2 separate regions of the Homo sapiens genome follow, and region 1 is linked to region 2. Evidence: promoter capture Hi-C in 16 types of primary human blood cells and fetal thymus (Javierre and others, 2016). All regions are on one chromosome and are shown on one strand. Each heading gives the region's core, a stretch centred on a gene start or on the middle of the fragment in contact. The rest is flanking DNA. Distances are from core to core; before and after follow the strand shown.

What was found. The method cuts DNA at HindIII sites, captures the fragments that hold promoters and counts their contacts. A CHiCAGO score of 5 or more calls a contact.
Region 1: a contact is called between a fragment that was not itself captured here and the fragment with the promoter of FGFR4 in region 2, in 1 of 17 cell types (endothelial precursors). The highest score is 5.6, in endothelial precursors.

What each region holds. Positions count from the first base shown.
Region 1 is chr5:176,666,291-176,673,551 of GRCh38, forward strand. LOC124901144 (a long non-coding RNA gene) reads left to right here. Exons shown (of 2, transcript XR_007059072.1): 2 at 387-1,237. Among named protein-coding and RNA genes, the nearest start is that of TSPAN17, 22 kb to the left of the region's middle. RefSeq lists a silencer at 94-320 and enhancers at 5,310-5,875, 5,876-6,439. The HindIII fragment of the contact is 1,963 bases long and covers 2,303-4,265 here.
Region 2 is chr5:177,082,658-177,090,130 of GRCh38, forward strand. FGFR4 (fibroblast growth factor receptor 4) reads left to right here and starts at 4,258. Exons shown (of 18, transcript NM_213647.3): 1 at 4,258-4,420; 2 at 6,893-7,036. The coding sequence starts at 6,946. RefSeq lists silencers at 3,869-3,918, 4,169-4,628, a promoter at 4,139-4,358 and an enhancer at 4,324-4,774. The HindIII fragment of the contact is 20,491 bases long and covers 1-7,473 here.

The DNA.
Region 1 (7,261 bases), core at 2,034-4,533, 420 kb before region 2:
TGGGCTCAAGTGATCCTCCCACCTCAGGCTCTCGAGTAGCTGGGACCACAGGCAGGTGCCACCATGCCTGACTCATTTTTTTTTTTTTTTAGTAGAGATGGGGTCTCACTATGTTGCCCAGGCTTATTTCGAACTGCTGGACTCCAGCGATCCTCCCACCTTGGCCTTCCAAAGTGCTGGGATTACAGGCGTGAGCCACGGCGCCCGGCCTGAGCTTAAAGTTATACAATAAAGCTCAGTACTGAAGCAGGAGGCAGCCAGCCCAGCAGGCAGGGACGCTCTAGAATTCTTTCAGGGCCTGAGACCTAAAACCCACGTATTTTTTTATGGGCAATTTAAGCAATTTTCAAGGGTGATCTTGACTGTTCTTTTGATTTTTGTCATAGGTGCTGACCTCGCTATCAAATACCCAAGTTGGATGTTGCTGCCACAGATCCTGTGGGCTGAGGCGTGCCCTGGACTCTCACGGGACAGGCGCTGGCAAACCAGGGGAGGGTCTCACATGAAAGGACCACAGCAGACTCGTCCCTTTGTCAGAGGAAAGAAATAGAATACTGTTTGGATTACAGATACTAGTAAAATATGATCTTGAAAAAACATTTGATAAATTACAGCAGGAATTTATAATTTAAAAAAAATCGCCAGGCGTGGTGGCTCACGCCTGTAATCCCAGCACTTTGGAAGGCTGAGGCAGGTAGATCACCTGAGGTCAGGAGTTCAAGACCAGCCTGTCCAACATGATGAAACCCCGCCTCTATTTAAAAAAAAAAATTAGCTGGGCATGATTGCGCATGCCTGTAATTCCCAGCTACTCAGGAGGCTGAGGCAGGAGAATCGCTTGAACCTGGGAGGCGGAGGTTGCAGTGAGCCGAGATCGCACTATTGCACTCCAGCCTGGGAGACTAGAGCAAAACTCTGTCTAAAAAAAAAGAAAAATCACAATTTCTTAGCAACTAGAAATAAAAGGAAATTTCTTTCACCTGATAAAGGGCACATATCAGACATATGGAAGAAACTTTATACTTCATGTTGAAACATCAGCAGCAGGAACAAGACAAGGATGCTGACTCAGTGCTACAATTCAGCACCGTCATAGAGTCCTAGCCAATGCAGTAACACAAGAAAATAAATAAGAAGGATAAAAATTAGCAGGGAGGAGACAAGGGCAGGAACCATCTCTGTCCTCTTGTTTCCAATTAAGCAGATACCTAATAAATTTTATTAAATTGGAGGAAAATTCATTGTATCCTTAAAGAAGGTTCTTGAAGGTAACAGAGCAGAATGGATCCTTTAGTAGCTAAAGTCTGAAATATTCAGTGGTCGTCAAGAAGTTCCATTGGTCATGGACCTGCCAAAAAGATAGAAGCACGATAAGACCAGAGAAGCATGAGAGAGCCCTTGGGATGCCAGGAAAATTGTTTTCAAAATAATTGGTGTTGATCCAAAATCAGGGGCATGATGTTTGGGTCGGTGGGGTCTCTGTGGCAGAGGACTCAATGGCCCCTGGATTCTGAAGTGGGAGCACGGGGCTGGGGGAACAAGCCAGGCGGTGTCTTCCAGCCAGGGGGAGCTGCAGGGAGAAGAGGAAGTCTTTTCACTCTTTGCCCTGGGATACTGAACGTCAGAATATGTTGCTGTTTTCCATGGGGTTCTAGAATATTGAGTTTAATTCCCACTTCTCGTTTATTCCCTGCCAGGTTTGGGTTCTTGATGTGTCTATGACACACTCAGGAAAGGTAGCCCCGGCTCAGGGCAAGCTGTGTGTCGGGTACCTACTGCATCTGCCTGGTCCCCATCTCTCCCCCAGCTTCTGGTGGCGGCACCTAGATTTTCCTTTGGGGAGAATCCCTCCCTCCTTGATTTCTGTTCTCCAAAGGGAGTGGCATAGGACCCAGGCCTGACATCAGCACATTCCATGGCCTTGGCTGTGGAGAGGCACAAAGGATGCCTGCTCCTGGGTCCTCACTGGGACAGAGAGGCTCCGCTCCCTCCCTTGGAGTTCTAAAAGCTGTTGGTGACCACCTTCCTGCCTGTGGTCCCAGAGTGAGGCTGACAGAGAAACATAGAGTCCAGAGAAGGTGGGCAACCTTGGCTTGGTGATGGCACTTGAGCTGTAGGTGTAGCCATATCTTATGGCAGAGCCATTGTTTTGTCTAAGGGGGTCCGAGCTGGGTTTCTGTCATCTTCAACTGAAAGTCCTGATGGACATAGTGGGAAAGAAGGGAGAAGCTGAAGGCCTGGGTCAGACATGCCCTGTCTCGGGGGTGGGGGCGAGATGCAAACCACTTCCAGATGGAGCCCAAGCTTCTTCCTCTGTCCCATAGCGCCCCTCCCAAGGGAGCTGATCCCGAGATCCCTAGAGGAGTGGAGGAATGATCAGGCATCATGCTAAGGAGTTTTTGTAAAGTCAATTTATTGAGTCTAATTTACATACATCGAAGTCTCCACACTTTAGGTGCATATTTCAGTGGGTTTTACAAATTTATTCCCCTGTGTAACCACCAAGATAGAGAACATTTCCATCACCCAGAAGGTGCCCTGTGGTCCTTCTATGTCAATCTCTGCTCCTACCCTGCTGCCAAACAAACATTGAGCTGCTTTCTGTCACTGCGGGTTAGATTTCTATTTTTTTCTCTAAAGTTTTGCATATAGTCAATCCTCAGTATTCACGGATTCCATATTTGTGAAGTTGATGACTTGCAAAAATTTATTTGTAACCCCCAGATCAATCCTCGTGGCACTTTTGTGATCATTCCTGGACATCAGCAGAGCACTGAGAAGTTTCGTTTGTGGATGCACACATTTCCTGCGGAGGTCAAACTCAACGAGCGACTTTCCCCCGTCTACTCAGGGCCACCTTTCCCGCATTTTTGTACTTTTTGTTGGGGATTTCGCTGTTGAAAATGGCCCTCAAGCATCAGAGTGAGGCCCTGGCTGGTGCTCCTTGATGCTAGAAGGCTGCGATGTGTCTTACAGAGAAAATGCATGTGTTGGATGAGCTTTGCTCAGTCATGAGTTATAGTTCTGTGGCCATGAGTTCATGCTCACAGATCAACAGCCTCTATATTAAATAAGGTGTCTTTAAACATAAGAACACATGCCACAGATGTATGCATTGGTCAGGTGACCAAAATCTTGTGAGCAGAGGATCTCAGGAACCTAACTCTGCATTTCCCTGGGAGCAATGCTTCCATACCAGTGAATTCAGTGTTCCCGGGAATGTCACAGAACATTACTGCCAGGCATGAGAGCCGGTCATATATGCAGTCATACAGATGCCACCTTTTGAGTCCGGTTTCTGTCACTTAGCATGACGCTGCTGAGATTCATCCCTGTTGTTCTTTTTGTTGCTGAGGAGTATTCCATTGTGGGGCTACGCCAGCTTCTCCATTCACTCAGCAGTTGATGGAGCATTTGGGTTCTTTCCAGTTTTTGGTGATCATGAACAAAGCTGCTGTGAACTTTCGTGTACAAATCCATGTGTGGACATATGTTTTCATTTCCATTCTAAGTGTCAGCTTAGGAGCACATACATTTATTACTTGCTTAATGCTTGCAGTAGCCCTGCAAAGCAGCCTCATTTTATGCATAAGGAGCTGGGCTCGGAGCAGAGCTATGGTGGCCTGCTGAATATCACATGGCTCACAGCAACTGGCACTGGCGCACAATCTCTTCCCTGGGGGAGGCCTGGGGGTCCCTATTCAGAGTGGCCCCATGGTGGGTGGGAGGGCCTTGGCTCTGTCATTGCCTCTCCAGGGGCCTAGAGGTCCTCAGCTGCAAAGTGCAGATTCAGTCCCCTCTGAGATCCCTGAGCTCCAAGCCTGTGATTATGGGGCCTGAGCCACAGCAGCGGGCTGCACCCCAGCCCCACTGCAGCCCTTCACAGGCTGAGCAGGGCTACAGCCAAGACTGACAGGCTGGGTGGGCTGGCTGGCTGGCTTCTAGGGCTTCAGCTGCCCTGAATACATTCCCCTGCTGGAGGTGACGCCACCGGCTTTTGCTTTGGGGGCTCATCCTCCTCTAGCATTTGCAGGGGATGAGCTGCCACCAAGGCCTTACACTCTCTGGAGGAGCTCCACATGCTGAGGGCTTGGCTTGTCTGGCCCTTCTCTATGGTGGGGCTTTGATCCCTGTGCAGAGAACTGACACAGGGACTGAGAAATGGCCAGAGCAGGCTCTAGGCAGCCTTTGCTCTGCACCCTTTCCAGGTTTCTGTGTCCCAGCCATCCAGTGAGCTGCCTGACAACCTCCCAAAGCCTCGCAGAAGCTTTCCGTTGCTTGCGCTCAGCGATCCCTGCATGCCACAGTGGATGCTCCCCTCCCTCGAGCCCCTGAGGCCTCAGCACCAGCTTGTCTCTTAGCAGGCTCTTCCCCTGGACTCCACCTCCTGCCCATCTGTTGGCTCAAGGAAGCCCTGGACTGGGGACAGCCTGGTACTTGACAGCAACTGATGCAGAGGGAAGAGCCCCAGGTCCGGGGAACGAGGACGAAGATCTGGGTGCTGAGTTGTTGCTTGTCCTCTGGGGCTCATCTTCCTCATCTCTAAAATGGGTACCATTTCCACAGTTTCATTCATTGTCATTGACCCCATCTCCTGTGGGTCCCGGCACTGTCCCTGAGGCTGGAAATCAGGGGAGGAGAGGGGCCCAGACAGGCCCCTGCCCTGATGGAGGAGAGGCAGATGCACTGTTGCAGATCTTGGAGATGACAGAGGAAGTCCCAATGCTCTGGGGACCAACTTGGGGCATTGTCCATGTTTTGGCCAGTCCTGGTACCAAAAACTGACTTTGACTACTATTTTTTTTTTTTTTTTTGACAGAGTCTCTCTCTGTTGCCCAAGCTGCAGTGCACTGGTGCAATCTTGGCTTACTGCAACTGCCTCCCAGGTTCAGGTGATTCTCCTGCTTCAGCCTCCCAAGCAGCTGGGATTACAGGCACCTGCCACCACACCTGGTTAATTTTTTTTTTTTTTTTTTTTTTTTGTATTTTTAGTAGAGATGGAGTTTCACCATGTTGACCAGGTTGGTCTTGAACTCCTAACCTCAAATAATCCACCTGCCTCAGCCTCCCAAAGTGTTGGGATTACAGGTGTGAGCCACAGTGCCCGGCCTGACTTTGACTGCCTTAATGCAAGGGGGAATTAATTGGAAGGAAAGGGCAGAAGTCAGGGCCACGCTGGGGAGCTGGGTGGTGAGAACTGAAGGAAAGTCTCTTTAGGGTGTGGCCACTCAGATAAGAAATCCTGCTGAGATTCAAAATTGCACAGAGGGGTGAGTACCCACCAGGGTGGAGGGTGGGTCTCATGACTGGCAGGCTGCCAAGCTGGCCTGCAGTGGGCTCCCCGAAATGTGGGGGAAATGCAGGGAAGGAAAAAGTCCTAAGTGTCCCCTGGTTGGGTGGAGTGGGAGAGTGGTGTCAGGTGAGGCTTGCCGGAAGCACTCAAATGCATGGGAAACAGAACTGTGAACTCCAAGGGGCAGAAACAGCAGAAGGCTTCGGCACTGTGAGCCTCAGAAGTGGCCGGCACCTACCCAGTGGCCAGCCCAGGGAAGGACTTCCCACCTGTTCTCTGATCCAGCGTCTCCACACGGGGGACACTTGTGAAGTTTACGTGGGACGAAAGAAGCCCAGCACATGGGCCTTGGCAGTCCCACCTGGCCCCACCTGCTAGGAATTTAGAAGAGAGCTGCAGAGACCTGGCACACACAAGGCTACCGTCCAGTCACTGAGGTGTGTGGCAAGGGCTGGGGAATGCCCGAAGAGGCGACCCACCTGGACGGCAGGCAGGGGCTTTCAAAGGAGGCCAGGAAGGCTGAGCAGTGTAGGGCCAAGGCTGTGGCAGAAAGGAGGGCATTCCTTGCGTGAGAGACCCTGGGTTTTGATTCTTGGGCCCTGGCTCTACCCTGTGGACCTTGGAGGGAGCAGGGGCCTGGGCAAACAGAGGTGACCTGGGGGTGCGGCAGGAAGGGGAGGGTGGGGTTGGGGAAGAGCTGTTGTGCGGGGCAGGCAGTGGGGAGGCGAGGAGATGGGGTAGGGGGTATGCAGGCCCCTGCAGGTCCTGCAGAGGACACCCCAAGGTTACCTTGGCCTGTGGCTCCGCGGCTCAAGGCTGCTGGCAGCAATGACAACAGCGAACCAGCAGCCTCTCCGAGTTTTATTATCATTCAAATGAGGACGTGGAGAGGTATTTCATTTGATTGGTAGAATAATAGGAGCCATTTATCTACCTTCTCTCAACCTTTCATATCTGTTTCACTATTTTATGGGATCGCATACATCATAGTAAAGGCAAAAATGTATTTTTTTCCCTTGACTTGGGGCTGGGGGGGGCAGCAGGGATGGGAAGGAGGCTCTCAGAGTGGCTGGCAGGAGCTGAAGGAAATGAAATCGAAAAAGACTATTATTGGTGACAGACAGTTACATCTGAAAGGGAATAAGAAACTCCCCAATGCGGGCACAGAGAGGAGTTTTAAATGGAAGATCTAACAGCCTCCAGCTCTAGGTCCATTGAGAGGCAGAGGACTGAGGGAGGCGTGAGGGGTGGGGGGCGAGACAGGGGGTGTGGCGGGGCATGGGGCGGGGGGGCTTCAGGGAGCCAGGAGGGTCCTTGAGGGAAACAGCAATGAGGCTGGCACAAGGGGCATGTGGTCCAGCTGTTGGAATTCTTTGTCTTTCTTGGGTTATGATAAATTACACGTGTCATACAAGGATCCATTCTCCTTTTGAAAACACTAGAACATCACAGGTAAAGACCCTGTGACCATCAGCCCCAATCCCAGCGCCCTCTACCCTTCCCAGAAGTAACAACTGTTAAGATTTTTTCCTCTTGATTTTACAAATATATAAAGATGCCTTAAAAGAGGTAATACTCTTTTGTGAATTCCCACCCCACCATCCCCCTCCCTTTTTTTTTTTTTTTTTTTTTTTTTGTTTTTTGGGACAAGGTCTCACTCTGTGGCCCAGGCTGGAGTGCAGTGGTGTGCTCTCAGTTCACTGCAGCCTTGACCTCCTGGGCTGAAGTGATCCTCCTGCTTCAGCCTCCAGAGTAGCTGGGACTACAGGTGTGCACCACCACACCGGCTAATTTCATTTTTAGTAGAGGCGGGGTCTCCCTGTATTCACAACCCAGGCTGGTCTTGAATTCCTGCGTTCAAGCCATCTTCCCAAAGTGCTGGGATTACAAGCATGAGCCACCACACCTGGCCCTTTACCCCTTTCTTAAAAGGTGTCACGCTGTCTCATTCAGCTCCTTGGTTTTTCT
Region 2 (7,473 bases), core at 3,008-5,507:
ATTTCCCCCAACACTCCTAGGAAGAAAGAAGCTGGAGCAGCCGGGAGCCGTTGCTCACGCCTGTAATGCCAGCACTTTGGGAGGCCGAGACGGGTGGATCACCTGAGGTCAGGAGATCGAGACCAGCCTGGCCAACATGGTGAAACCCCGTCTCTACAAAAATACAAAAATTAGCTGGGTGTGGTGGCAGGCGCCTGTAGTCCCGGCTACTAGGAAGGCTGAGGCAGGAGAGGCAGGAGAATTGCTTGAGCCTGGGAGGCGGAGGTTGCAGTGAGCCAAGATCACGCCACTGCACTCCAGCCTGGGCAATAGAGCGAGGCTCCATCTCCACAAAAAAAAAAAAAAAAAAAGGAAGAAGAGGAAGCTGGAGCATGACGGCTTTCTGGGTGGGGAAACTGAGGCAGAGGCAGGTTAACAGCAGGATCTTAGGGTGACAGGCTCTTGCCTCTGCTAAGCGAGAGAGAGAGAGAGAGAGAGTGTGTGTGTGTGTGTGTGTGTGTGTCTGAATGTATTTTTTTTTTTTTTTGAGACAGGGTCTTGCTCTGTTTCCCAGGCTAGAGTGCAGTGCGTGATCTTGGTTCAATGCAACATCTGCCTCCCAGGTTCAAGTGATTCTCCTGCCTCAGCCACCCCAGTAGCTGGGATTACAAGCGTGTGCCACCATGCCTGGCCAATTTTTGTATTTTTAGTAGAGATGGGGTTTTACCATGTTGGCCAGGGTGGTCTCGAACTCCTGACCTCAAGTGATCCGCCCACCTCAGACTCCCAAAGTGCTGGGATTACAGGAGTGAGCCACTGTGCCCAGTCGTGTCTGAATGTCTTTGAGAAAGAGACTGCAAATGTGACTGGTGAAAGATTGCGTGTCAGCAAGAGAGTGAGACAGTGTGAAAGGCTTAGGTGCTCTCCCTGACTGGCTCAGCTTATCTCCCAGGCTGTAACTGATTACTTATCTGTCTGTCCCCACTACAATGTCAGCAGCCCCTTGAAGGGTAGAAGTAGGGTCCAGGCCAGGTGAGGTGGCTCACATCTGTAATCCCAGCATTTGAGGAGGCTGACATGGGCAGATAACTTGAGGTCAGGAGTTTGAGACTAGCCTGGTCAATATGGTGAAACCTTGTCTCTACTAAAAATATAAAAATTAGCCAGGTGTAGTAGTGCACATTTGTAATCCCAGCTACTCAGGAGCCTGAGGCAGGAGAATCACTTGAACCCAGGAGGCAGAGCTTGCAGTGAACTAAGATCACACCACTGCACTCCAGCCTGGACAACAGAGCAAGACACTGTCTCCCAAAGAAAAGAAAAGAAAAAGAGTCCAATTCGGGGCTTTATCCCCAGGATTTAAAACAGTGGATGCCACATAATGAACCTTCAATAAATAATCATTCAGATGAATGAGTGAATGAGTGAATGACTTTGTGAGGGAGCATCAGCCTCTGTGGAGGGTCAGTGTGAAAGGTTATGAGTGCGGGGAGAGGAGGCAGACAAGGGATATGGGGAACATATCCTAGGGACATCAGAGGGTTGCAAATCTGAGGGATTTGCGCATCTCAGGAGACAAGGAGGTTGCAAGACCTGAGCTATGAAAACTTTTAGTTTGTCTTTGGCTCTGGTAAACTCAGGAAATGCCCGGGAAGGTGAATGAAAGCCATGTGGGGTCCAGCTCCAGCTGGCGGCTCACCCTGTCTCCCCCCACAACCACATTCACAAGGGGAGCCAGCAGAGGGCCAGAGGCAGGGAGCTGAACCCCTCCAGCAGTCCGGGAGGTCTGGCAAGGTACCCTCTGGGCAGGCAGCTCCCAGGGCCAGGAGCCTCATCTGTCCTGGGAGCTCCAGCAAGGCAGGACTCTAGAGAAGGGAACCAGGACAAATTGTTTTTAAAAGATAACCAATTAAAAAAAAATTTATAATATACATATATATGTGTGGGTGTGTCTGTGTGTATGTATATACACACAGACACACAGACACACACAGACACACACACACACACACACACACACATATATATATATATATATATTTTTTTTTTTTTTTGGAGACAAAGTCTCACTCTGTCACCCAGTCTGGAGTGCAATGGCACGATCTCGGCTCACTGCAACCTCCACCTCCCGGGTTCAAGCAATTCTCTGCCTCAGCCTCCCTAGTAGCTGAGATTACAGGCACATGCCACCATGCCTGGCTAATTTTTTTGTATTTTTAGTAGAGCTGGGGTTTCACCATCTTGCCAGGTTGGTCTTGAACTCCTGACCTCGTGATCCACCCACCTAAGCCTCCCAAAGTGCTGAGATTACAGGCGTGAGCCACCGTGCCCAGCCTAATATATATTTTTAATAGAGACGAGATCTCACTATGTTGCCCAGGCTGGCCTCGAACTCCTGAGTTCAAGCGATCCTCCCGATTCAGCCTCCCACAGTGCTGGGATTATAGGCATGAGCCACCATGCCTGGCCTCAATTATTTTCTGATTTATCTTTGGGAGGAGACCATTCTTTCGCTTAAGAAGAAAAAGAAAAAAACAATTTTAAGTCTCTTTAATGGGCCTTACAGTTATGCAAAGATATGCCACTATCCCTTTGGGAGTGAGGGTGGAAAGAACTAGACTTGCCTGCGTAACAATGAGAAAGGAAGTTGCTTCTTAAGACAGGGTCTACACTAGCTAGAGGGGACAACCAGGACCTGAGCCTCAGACAGGGTCTCGCTCCATAGCCTGTTGCCCAGGCTACAGTGCAGTGGAGCGATCACGGCTCACTGCTGCCTCGACTTCCTGGGCTCAAGCAATCCTCTGGCCTCAGCCTCCCAAGTAGCTGGGACCACAGGTGCACCCAGCCCATTTCCCTTCCTCTCAAGGTGCCTTAAGAGAAGGAGAAGGCTTGAGATTCAGGTGAGGGATGGGCAGAGATCAGAGGCTGCCTGGCCTCCTGGTTTGGCCACAGTCTAGATGCTCAGGAGAGAAGTGCTTACAGGTGAGGCAAACATGAGCCAGGTGGGCACGGAGCTATCTGGGAGCACCTACTGTATGCCAGACACTTGAACTCTAATGGTGAGGTCTGAGGACACAGTTCCTCTACTGAAAAATAGAGACAGGGCAACTATGTTGCCAGGGCTGGCCTCACACTCCTGAATTCAAGCTGTCCTCCTACCTCAGTCTCCTAGTAACTAGAACTACAGGCACCCGTCATTGTGCCCGGCCATTCCACAGCTATTTACATAATTAACTGTTCAGTTACAATTCTGGCAAGCGTGCTGAAGAAATAACAGGTCCTAAATAATTACAGCTAGTATTACAAAGCAAGCGCTGCATGCCAGGCTTACACATACTGCTAACATGTCTACTTTTTGCAACAACCTCTTGTGGGTGAGACTATCATTTGCCTGTTTTACTGAAAGGACAGTGAAGACTGAGGCCTTGTGTGATGGTGCTGAGAGCTGGGCCTATGACGTCCAGCCCTGTAGTCTGTGCTCTGAACCACTTCACCCTGTTTCTTTCTCCATCCTCACAGTAGAGACGTCATCTAAGAGGAGCTTGCAAGTCCAGAGGGCTTCCTGAAGGAAGTGAGCTGAGAATAATATGAAATTAACCAGACCAAGGGCCATTCCAGGAAGAGAGAATGGTACGTGAAACTGCCCAGGAGTAGCAGGGTGGGAGCCAGGAGGCGTGGGTCATGGCAATCTATGTATAAAGAGCTATGGGAATCTATAGGAAAATTTAAGGGAGTGGCTGACACAGTCAGATTTGTGTTGTAAGTATCACTCCGCAGGTTGCGCAGGGAACAAATGAGGGAGCAGAAGGAAGGGGTTCTCCTATCCGCTGCACGGCACTGCGCAGAAGACAGGGGAGCCAGGCATTCCCTGAAGGGTGAAAAGCAAGGAGTAGAGCTGGGTAGTAGACTAGAATTTAGGAGCCTGGCCTGGGGCCTGGGTGGGGCGAAAGAGGCGGAGCCTGAATGGGGTGTGTATAGGGGGGTTGCGTGTAGGGGTGTGTGTATAGGCTGGGGCGGGGTCCCGGGAGTGGGCTGACTGGGTCGGGGGCGGGGCTCTCCAGGTGGGCGGGGATCTTGGCCACCCCTGGCCACACCTCTCTCCGGCTCGAGCTGGTCTAGGCGGGGCGGGCCCGAGGGGGTGTGGCAGGAGGTGGGCGGGCCCGGGTGGGGGGGGGGGGGGCGTGGAAGGAGGGGCGGGCCCGAGCAGGAGGGGGCGGGCCCGAGGGGCGGGGTGGGACAGGAGGTGGGCCGCTCGCGGCCACGCCGCCGTCGCGGGTACATTCCTCGCTCCCGGCCGAGGAGCGCTCGGGCTGTCTGCGGACCCTGCCGCGTGCAGGGGTCGCGGCCGGCTGGAGCTGGGAGTGAGGCGGCGGAGGAGCCAGGTGAGGAGGAGCCAGGTGAGCAGGACCCTGTGCTGGGCGCGGAGTCACGCAGGCTCGAGGTGAGCCGGAACCCTTGTGGGCCCGGGCTGCGCTCCCAGCCGCCAGGGGGCGAGAGGCGGCGGGGCTACGGGGACTGCCCCTCCCGGCGCAGGGGACCTGGGCGTCCGCCGGGCGGCAGGGGGTGGAGGGGGCGGTAAATCAGTAACCCGCAGTGCACACAGGGCCTTTTGTCCCGCTCCGTCCAAAGAGCACCCCGGCCGCGGAGCTGGTTACTCATTGCCCACCGAGGCGGGGGCAGGCTGGCCCTGTGCAGCTACCCTCGGGACCCATTGATTCGCACCTCCCCCCAGGCTGGCCCGGCAAGGGTGGGGGAGGACAAGCGCGCTTGTCCCTGCGGCTGTCTTCGCGCCGGCGGCAGAGATGAGGGACCTGAGGCCCCGAAAAGTTCAGTCACTTAGTGCCCGGGGGCCTCCAGCGCGAGTGCGGGAGGCTGAAGGAGAACCCAGGACTGTCTGATGCCTAAGGCAGGCCCTCCATTCCCACGTGGGGGGTGGTCGGTCAGCGGTCAGCAGCCATGGGTGACTCGACTAAGGACTCTGATATCAGGGCAGCCTGGGGTAGGAATAAACTCCCCGGGCCTCCCCACCCACTCCCAGCCCAAGCTGTGTACCCAAAGAGCTGCCCTCCCTGCCAAGCCGAGCTTGGTAGGGAGTTTTACCAAGGAGGATCCGACTGGATTCGAGAGTTGAGGTGGGCCAGAGACAGCAGTATCTGAGTCAGGTAGAGAAGAGCAATGAGGGGCACAGAGGGATGGGCAAGAGAGCACATGTGCCCAGTTTTGAAAGCCAATGGCTTCAGCGCTCCTGAAGGGGCAGACGGTGTGACCAAAGAGATAGGCAGCGGCAGAGAGGGAGCCCTAGGATGTTGAGCTGGATCCTGCTGGGCACAGGTAGCCATTAAGGGCTTGCAAGCTGGGGGGCATGACATGGCAGACTTGCAGGTTTTTTTGTTTGTTTTTTTATTTTATTTTATTTTTTTATTTTGTTTTTTTTGAGACGGAGTCTCACTCTGTCGCCCAGGCTGGAGTGCAGTGGCGCGATCTCGGCTCACTGCAAGCTCCGCCTCCCGGGTTCGCGCCATTCTCCTGCCTCAGCCTCCCGAGTAGCTGGGACTACAGGCGCCCGCCACCGCGCCCGGCTAATTTTTTGTATTTTTAGTAGAGACGGGGTTTCACCGTGTTAGCCAGGATGTTCTCGATCTCCTGACCTCGTGATCCGCCCACCTCGGCCTCCCAAAGTGCTGGGATTACAGGTGTGAACCATCGCGCCCAGCCGACTTGTAGTTTTTTAAAACTCTGCTGGAAGATGAAGGTTGAAGAGCCGAGGGAGAGGATGTTTCCAGAGGCCCATGCAAGAGATGGCCATGACCTGCCTTGAGAAGGGGCAGGGGAAGCCAGATGGACTGGAAGTGGAGTGGCAGTGACCAAGGAGGAGGAGGTGTGATAGGCTTCCCACGCAGGGTAGATCCAGAGACACCAGTGCCACCCATAGGCCCCTAGGACTGCAGTGGTCACCGATTCCTTTGTCCCAGCTGAGACTCAGTTCTGAGTGTTCTATTTTGGGGAACAGAGGCGTCCTTGGTAGCATTTGGAAGAGGATAGCCAGCTGGGGTGTGTGTACATCACAGCCTGACAGTAACAGCATCCGAACCAGAGGTGACTGGCTAAGGGCAGACCCAGGGCAACAGGTTAACCGTTCTAGGGCCGGGCACAGGGAGGAGAACATTCCAACACTCTGCGTGCCGACGCACGTTCTCTCTTTTATCCTCAAAACAGTCCTATGAGGATAGTAAGCCAGAGAGAGACAGAGACAAGGAATTACAAGTTGGTGAGAGTCAGGATTTGAACTTGGCTCTGGCAGATGGAAAATTAGGGTCTGTATTCTTTACAAAACCGTGTGTGCCTCAGATGGAGTTGGTGCATAACAAGCAGAGGTATCCAGGGTCGCGGTCCTGCTTGCCACGGAAGGGGCCGCCTTGTCAGTTGTGACCACCCAGCCCTGGAAATGTCAGTAATGCTGTAAGGAGTGGGGATCGGATCAGATGCCATCCAGATGCTGAAGTTTGACCTTGTGTCATTTTTCACTTTCTTTTTTGGCTCTTCTGCAATCAATTCATTTATTTAGCAAAAAAGAAATTATGTGTGCCGAGAGCATGCAGAAGATATGTCTCCGTTCTCTGCTTCCCTCCAAAAAAGAATCCCAAAACTGCTTTCTGTGAACGTGTGCCAGGGTCCCAGCAGGACTCAGGGAGAGCAGGAAGCCCAGCCCAGACCCCTTGCACAACCTACCGTGGGGAGGCCTTAGGCTCTGGCTACTACAGAGCTGGTTCCAGTCTGCACTGCCACAGCCTGGCCAGGGACTTGGACACATCTGCTGGCCACTTCCTGTCTCAGTTTCCTTATCTGCAAAATAAGGGAAAAGCCCCCACAAAGGTGCACGTGTAGCAGGAGCTCTTTTCCCTCCCTATTTTAGGAAGGCAGTTGGTGGGAAGTCCAGCTTGGGTCCCTGAGAGCTGTGAGAAGGAGATGCGGCTGCTGCTGGCCCTGTTGGGGGTCCTGCTGAGTGTGCCTGGGCCTCCAGTCTTGTCCCTGGAGGCCTCTGAGGAAGTGGAGCTTGGTATGGCTTCTGAGGTGGGAGAGGGTGGCAGGGGTGGGAAGAGTGGGCACCAGGAGGGGGCTGCTGGGCTGAGCAAAGCTGGAAAGGATCCTTGCCCAGGCCCTGAGAAGGTGGCGGCAGGGCAGGGCTCAACCACTGAGACTCAGTCAGTGCCTGGCTTCCAGCAAGCATTCATCTATCACTGTGTCTGCGAGAGAGGACTGGCCTTGCAGGGCGCAGGGCCCTAAGCTGGGCTGCAGAGCTGGTGGTGAGCTCCTTACCTGGGTGTGTGTGCGTGTGTGTGTGTGTTCTGTGCACTGGGTGTGTGACCTAGGAGGTCCAGGCAGCATGTGTGGTATAAGCATTATGAGGGTGATATGCCCCGGTGCAGCATGACCCTGTATGTGGCACCAACAGCATGTGCCTTGTGTGTGTGTGTGTCCGTATGTGTGTGTGTG